Linked DNA regions of Homo sapiens: region 2 is linked to region 1. The links are contacts of gene promoters, found by promoter capture Hi-C in blood cells and fetal thymus (Javierre and others, 2016). All regions are on one chromosome and are shown on one strand. Each heading gives the region's core, a stretch centred on a gene start or on the middle of the fragment in contact. The rest is flanking DNA. Distances are from core to core; before and after follow the strand shown.

Evidence for each region. Contacts are between HindIII fragments. The CHiCAGO score rates a contact against its expected background, and 5 or more counts as called.
Region 2: a contact is called between a fragment that was not itself captured here and the fragment with the promoter of NEB in region 1, in 2 of 17 cell types (naive B cells and total B cells). The highest score is 5.3, in naive B cells.

Annotation. Positions count from the first base shown.
Region 1 is chr2:151,733,226-151,737,057 of GRCh38, forward strand. NEB (nebulin) reads right to left here and starts at 1,251. Exons shown (of 182, transcript NM_001164508.2): 1 at 1,173-1,251; 2 at 487-570. The HindIII fragment of the contact is 3,549 bases long and covers 636-3,832 here.
Region 2 is chr2:151,658,483-151,662,314 of GRCh38, forward strand. NEB (nebulin) reads right to left here. Exons shown (of 182, transcript NM_001164508.2): 46 at 3,653-3,832; 47 at 583-687. Among named protein-coding and RNA genes, the nearest start is that of NEB, 74 kb to the right of the region's middle. The HindIII fragment of the contact is 6,754 bases long and covers 1-3,832 here.

The DNA.
Region 1 (3,832 bases), core at 1-2,500:
TTCCCAGCACAGAAATTATCTTATGACATTATAAAAATAGAATTTGAAGCTAAACTATTGTACAAATTCATATATTGTTGCAGGCTAAAGGAGAGAAGACATTTAAAATACAAGTATAAACAGCAGAAGCTTCAAATTTCTTTCTCTTTATTCCTTCAGTGTTGGGAATTGCTACTTCTACATAATCAGTTTAGTTAAAATTGTAAAACGAAATTGAGGTAAGGAAGTGAGAGAGTTTGGACTCAGGGAACAGAGAATTTAAACTTCCAAACACTTAGAGAAAAGACATTTTCCAGCAAAAATTTTAGTGAAAGGTCAGCTTGGGTTTCAGAAGAAGCTGAAATTTATCCCCCAGCACCAAAATTCTAAGAGGGCTGACTTAGTTTTCCATACTGCCCTGATCCACTGTTTGCAATATATCTTAGGCTTCAAATTGGAACCCATAAAAATACATCTGTCAATAAATTTTAAAAGAAAAAAAGAAACCTCAAGGCAATGGGGTTATTTTCTTCCCGAACACCATTGGCTTATACAGACTTTTTCTTTCGTTTCTGTAGCTCTCGTTCAAACCTGAAAAATAACAAAGTTGTAAAGCATTGATTGAGGTACATATAGGATTGTCAGTCCTTAGCCTAAGCTTCTAATGCAGAAAACAGCGAAAGGATCTCTCAAGGCCTCTACAGTTTGACGCCAGAGAGTAAGACTCTTGATATGAAGTGGATGATGAGTTGGAACAGCTGTCCCTTCATCCAAAGATGTTTGCCATGTAAACCAATACCCTGCAGTGGCTGGTTTTGTTAAGCTAGCGAAACTGCCACTCCTCAGGCAAATGAAGCCCAGTAGAACAGGATAAATATAGGAACGTAGAGCAGCGTATCTTCTTTTTCACACTAATATATTTAGAGAAAAATATCAAAGGCAAAAAAATGTTAGACAAGAGAGCCAATTCAGTCAAGCAATAAATTGGTTAGCAAAGGACTTGACTCTAATCACACACGGTACATAGCAGATATTAGTAGGGCCTTAGTAGGGCAATGGGGTTAAACTCTCCTAGCCATATTTCTACCACTAATTTCCTCAGTTATGGCCCAAACCTTTGAAAAATACTTCGAGGGAAGTTGTGGAGCATCTCCTGAAAGAGTATTACAGAAAAAGTCATAAACTGGCCTTACCTTCAATCTACCAAATAAATTTCCTCAGCAGCAAAGCCTCTCCCAACTCTCCCCTCCTGAGAACCCCAGGCAAAAGCCAGCGTGATGCCTGGGCTCCGAATTATCATGTGGCAAGAGCAACCAATCAGATCTTGAGTTGCTCAAATTTCAGAAGCTAAATTTACCAAGTGATCTTCTGAAAACCACCTGTTCATCAATTCCACTAAAGGATAAAGGGTAACAAATTGCTTGCTTAGAACAATTCAAATGGAATCAAATTTTACCTAACTTCCAGCCTGTGCAGTTCAATTTTAGGTTGAATTTCCCATTTACTGAGGCCCCATTCAATGTCATATTCATGCAAAAGAATTTAGTAGAAAATAAGCATGACTTTGAGAGGCTTTAACCCTTCCGTGACTGCTTTCTTCATGTCATTTGTCCAGTCATGGTGGTAAATGTACTCACTCTGGTAAGGTTCACCAGGTGAGCTACAGGTAAGTTACTGGTGCTAGTGTGAAAGAAACTGAGGAATAAGACCCAGTAAACATCAAGTTGACAAAAGCAATTTTTAAAAATGTGATGAGTGAAGTTAAAGGTGAAAATATTTGACAATGGCACTAAATAAGATATCCACAGGGTGTAATTAGAAAGATTAGACCCCATCATTTTTCTGTTACTAAACCAAGAGGGTATACCAAAATCCTATTTAGCACCTTCTCCCTCCTTAGATAAGGCAAGCTGCTAGGAATACAGAACCTCTCTCATATGTAACCGAGTTAGTGATTTTTCTATTAACTCAGATGACTCCTGGCTCCCAGAAGCAACGTGTGAATGCGGACACAAACAGGCTCAATTTCTGAACAGCAAGAGCAGATAACATGGAAATCAGTAACTTATCAGGAGAAAATAATGCCCTATTTGGCAAATCCGAACGTAAGACATTTCCTTCATAAAAATTATCTAACCATTTTCTTAAAACTTGCCTGATGTCTTTCTTGCACTTTCTTTGCTCCTGAAGTATTTTTTCTAATTTAAAATCTAATTCTATCTGTCTGTCTGTCTGTCCTTACACACAGCGACAGAAATCACAGGCTCTTATGTGACAGAGAACTGCTCTTTCTCTGGGTTGCTCCTGTATTCAGGCAAAACCCTGTGAGTCACCTATATCTTGATATGGATTTGAGATTAAACATATTGTAATATTTTTTCTTTTTTAAGTTAAACATTAGAAAGTAATCTCGCTGGGCGTGGTGGCTCACGCCTGTAATCCCAACACTTTGGGAGGCCGAGGCGGGCAGATTGTCTGAGGCCAGGAGTTTGAGAAAGTAATCTCATATTTCAAATACATGTACCTTTTCCCCCTCCATGATTCACATGGTAGTAAATAAAATCTAACAGAATTTTATCATCTTAACTGATTATACCTGTTCATCTTGTATGTTCTCACAGGTCTTATGACCAAAGGATATTTATGTAATATGAGATCACTCACTTGGTAGCTGCAAACTAGAATTGTGACTTACTAGTCATTACATGCTTTAAAATGTGTTGTTGAATTAAAAAATAATACAGGCCCATACTTTAAAAACATAGAGTACAAAATTATATAAAGTAAAAAATGAGCATTGACCTTCTTAGTCATTTTTAAGTTTCAGATATTTTCAATATAGATATTGACATAAATCGATATACTTAATATGCAATAGACATTTTTATGAAACATCACATAAACATATCCTACTCTAATTTCCACAAATAATTCTATTGATTGGATAGAGTATAATAGTTTAATCATTATTAATGGACATCTAGGTTGTTTCGAGGTTTTTGCTATTACAAAATAAAGCAAAACAATGCGAAACAAAACACACAGTAAGCATCCCTGTACATTACCTTTGTATACTTATATGAAATGTATCTGTAAGGTAAATTTCTAGAAATAGAAATACTGAGGCAGAAGATATATGCACATTTTGAAAATTGATAGATATTGTCAAGTTGCCAGTCAAAATCCTTACACTATTTTATGTTTCACTAACAGAGAATGAGGGTTCCTATGTATACACATCTCAATATCCTTAGGGATTATTAGACTGAAAAATCATTACTATCTGAGCTGAATGTGTCCCCCCAAAATTTATATGTTGAAGTCCTACCCCCCGATGTGTGGAAAGTGATTGGGTCATAAGGGTGGAGCCCTCACGAATGGGATTAGTACACTTATGAAAGAGGCCCCAGAGAGCTGCCTGGCACTCTCTCTGCCATGTGAAGTTACAGGGGGATGATGGCCAGCCACAACCTGAAAGAAAGTCCTCACTAGAACCCAACCATGCCAGCACCCTGATCTTAGACATCCAGCCTCTAGAACTATGAGAAGTAAATTTCTGTTTATAAGCCATCCAGCTTATATTATTTCTGTTATAGCAGACCAAATGGACTAAGACACTCTTTATACATTACTTTTGAAACCACTATGATAGTAAATAGAAGTGCTACAGATGAGCAGAACCTCAAACTCCATTCATAATGAAGTGTGCATCTAAAAAGTTAGGGTGGGGGGTGGGGCAAGAGTGAGTTCACATGAAATTACCCTGGCTTAGATCTCTTGGGATAAATTCCTCCTAAAAGAAAGCCCCAAAGCCCCTGCTAAACTGGCCTGCTGCAGGTTGCCCTAATAATTT
Region 2 (3,832 bases), core at 1,333-3,832, 73 kb before region 1:
GAATCTACAATTAAAAAAAAAGGTCAGCTATTCCAAATCTCTGTGGAATTCAAACAAAGAAATGATAAAAATAGGATTAGAGGATTTCCTAGCAACTATGATTAGGATGAAAAAGGAAATGAAATAAAATATCAATACATTTGCACATTCTTTGTTTTGGGGTTTTGCCCCAGATTCTTCAAAATGTTCTTCTTCCCTTTCCATTTAACCCCTTCTTTAGAACCATCTCAAAGGCTTGATGGAAGGGCTGTCTAAGAACGAAATTCTAGGACTCTCATTTCCTTTTTCTCTTCTCCTGGCCCCGGAGCCTGTTTCTTTCTACCAAATCTCTCAATTTAATAAGGAGTGCCCCCCTAGAACAAAATCCAATCACACCGTTCAAATTCTTAACTGCTTGGCCCAACCCCATCCACAGTCCTACTCCAACTCCGCAAAGCAAAATTAGAAAGAGTCTCATGTGTGGATTTCCACCATTATTTTTAAAACATTCACTCTCATAACTGAGAGAGATATTAATTAATTTGTTCTTACTGGTTCAAATCTGCTGGAGAGAAAGATGACAACAGGGGGAACTATACTTACATCACTCATATTAATTGCATTTGCCTTTGCCAAAATAATCTGGGGGATATCAGGCATGATGTGGACTTTGGTTTTGTCAGCCTCCCATGCTTGTTTGTAGAGATGCTAGGAAAAAAACAGTGTAAATTAGTGTTTAAAATCTTAAAAGAAGCTCACTTAGTACATACATATCATTGTACATATATATCAATATTTCATGTATTTTTATTAGCTAGGTTTAAATTAATTAATTTATTTATTTATTATTTTTGAGACAGAGTCTTGCGCTGTCACCCAGGCTGGAGTGCAGTAGTGCAATTATGGCTCACTGCAACCTCCACCTCCCAGGCTCAAACAATCCATCCTCCCACCTCAGCCTCCTGAGTAGCTGGGACTACAGGCATGCACTACCATGCCTGGCTAATTTTTGTATTTTTTGTAGAGATGGGTTTTTGCCATGTTGCCCAGGCTGGTTTCAAACTCCTGAGCTCAAGCAATCCACCTGCCTTCACCTTCCAAAGTGCTAGTATTACAGGCATGAGCCACTGCACCTGGCCCAAAAAAATTTTAATGGAAAAGTTGCTTATTCAAACAATACAGCAGGGAGGATGTAAGATGGAAAGTAAAAATGTTTTTTCCCCTTATCTTACAGCATGAAGGTAGCATTTGCCTCCTAAAATTTTCTGTGTAAATTAAAACAGACATATAGTCCTTTTTAAATATACATGAAGTCATGTTCTACATCTTGATTTTTAACTTAATAATATAGGTTAGACATATTTGAACCTTCTTAAAATAATTTACTTCATTCATTTTTAGAGCTACGTAGTATTTCATTAGGAGGTATAATCTAATTAATTTAATCAGTTCTCTGGTGATGAATATTTAACTTATGGCCTCTAGCCTTTTTCTGCTACAAGCAATGTCATGATCCTTGTGGTGGACATGGAGATGTGCCACCAATATACTCATTCAAGGAAGGACCTGATTCCCCAACTTTTGGCAAATAGTCTCCAGTCACCAGCTGTCTCACTCAAGAGTATGCCCTTCCCAGATAACCACATTCAACAACTCATCGAAGTGGGGGTACAAAGATCTAGCCATTTCAGTTCAGTGCAGGTCTCTACTGACAGAGACACTTGAGAGCCCTCTGTGGGACTGGCCAAGACTTTGTCATGCCAGCATCACTGTTCAACTTCTCCTCCGGCCTAGTCCTTCTTCCCAAAGACTAGGATCCCTAAAAAATACTCTGTACTCCAATTTTCATCTTAGCGTCTCCTTTCAGAAACCCTAAACTGCAAAACATATTCTTGTGTGTATGTATGTATGTATGTATATCTTTGCACACATATATAAGGATTTCTATAGGGTAATGATACCTGAGTTTTAAATTTTAACGAACATTAACAAATGGCCCATTAAAAGTTTGCTTTAACAGAAACTCCCTTACAGATATTGCATGTAACACAGCTATTTAATATTTGCAAATGCAATAGATGATAAATGCTATCTCTTTGTTTTAGCCCATCTTAATTAAAATAAGAATAACCTTTTTCTGGACTAGAGATTGGCAAACTTTTTCTGTATAGACAGAAATTCCTTAAATTTCAGGCTTTGTGGGCTAAACAATTGCTGTCATTAGCTACTCAACTCTGCTGTTGTAGTCCAAAAGCAGCCAGAGACCACACGCCAACAAACAGCTGTGGTTGTGTCACTATAAAACTTTATTTACAAAAACAGTCATTTTTCTGAACTCTGTTTTAGACCAGCACTATACAATAGAACTTTCTGTAATGATGGAAATGTTCTGCATAATCCAATATGGTAGAACCTAGCCACATAGGCCGATTGAGTACTTGAAATGTAGCTAATGTGAATGAGAAACTGAATTATTAATATGATTTATGTAAATATAAATCAACACATGTGGCTAGTAGTAATAGTATTGGACAGTGAAATGCTAGTGGAAAGAGTGGTGACTAGTTATCAGAATCCCTGTTCTAGTCCAGACCCTGCTGTTGACCCGCTGTGTGGGAGGTGCTTTGCTTCTCTGGGCTGTTCTTTTCTCAACTCTGCAATGGGAGGATTCAACTTGATGGTCATCAAGATGTCTCTTGGTGCCAGTACGTGCTAGTTCTATGATTCTCCTCTTGGCATCATTATCCTGAAATGTTAATCACTAACACTGAAAAAAATAGATATCCTCATGTAGTTTAGATTTAAATCTTAAAAGAGGCACAGAAATTTGTGCCTTGTCTTTGAGGCAGGTCCCTTTCAAGGAGGTTGAGCTCCACAAATCATTCAATTCTCTGAAGACTCCAGGGGGTTTGCTCCGTGGCTTAGCATAATACAGTTCTATCTTTCTAGCACAACTATGGCCATTATTTTCTGCAACTGTTTCACGTTTAGATCCAAATCATCTTTTTCTCTGTTATCAAAGGCATTTCTCATTTTGATCCACCAGTGCTGCTGCAGTTATTTTATTACTTTTAACTTCAAAAACAGATGTTCAAGGTTGATTGTACTTGTTGGTCTTGATCTCTTATTGCAAATCAATGTAAAAATAGAGTAAGTCTTTTCTAAAAGCTGGAATAATTCATGAACCAAGGAAACACTGATGTAGAACAACTGCCCTCAAGATTACCCAGAGAACGTCCTGGTTTGAAATGCTGCTACAGGCATGTAATCTTGGACTTTTCTTTGATCCCATCAAAGCAGAAAGCAAGCTGGGGTTTGGGAGGTGGTTTCCAACACCAGCTACCATCAGGAAATCTGCTGATTCAGTGTCATGAATGTCTATTCAACCTCACCTTAGACAAACAGGACTCATTTTCAAGAGGTGCAGTAAAAGAAAAAGTCCCTATTTATTTGGTTATGTCAATGAGATAGGATGGTTCATTGAAGATTTGAAGACTACTAGTTAGAAATAATTCCTATTCTTTTTTTTTTTAACGACAAGACTCTTTTTCTAGGTAAAATAACCTCAAGTGTGATGCCCTATAACTGTATTAGCAAAACCTGTGGATTAAATGTAAATTATACCTGGATTCTCTCTGATGCATATGAAACACTGCATTATTGAAAGACTTACTTCGTTCATAATTTTTGCATTATTCTGGGCCAAAACCATGTTCATCGAGTCCATGAGTGTGGAATACTTCAAAGTGTCTGGGTGCTGGCGGTACTTCTTTTCACTAATAATCTCCATGGCTTTCTTGTTTTTCTCTGCTTCCAGGGAGCCCAGAGGGAGCCATCCAATGCCCTTCATGAA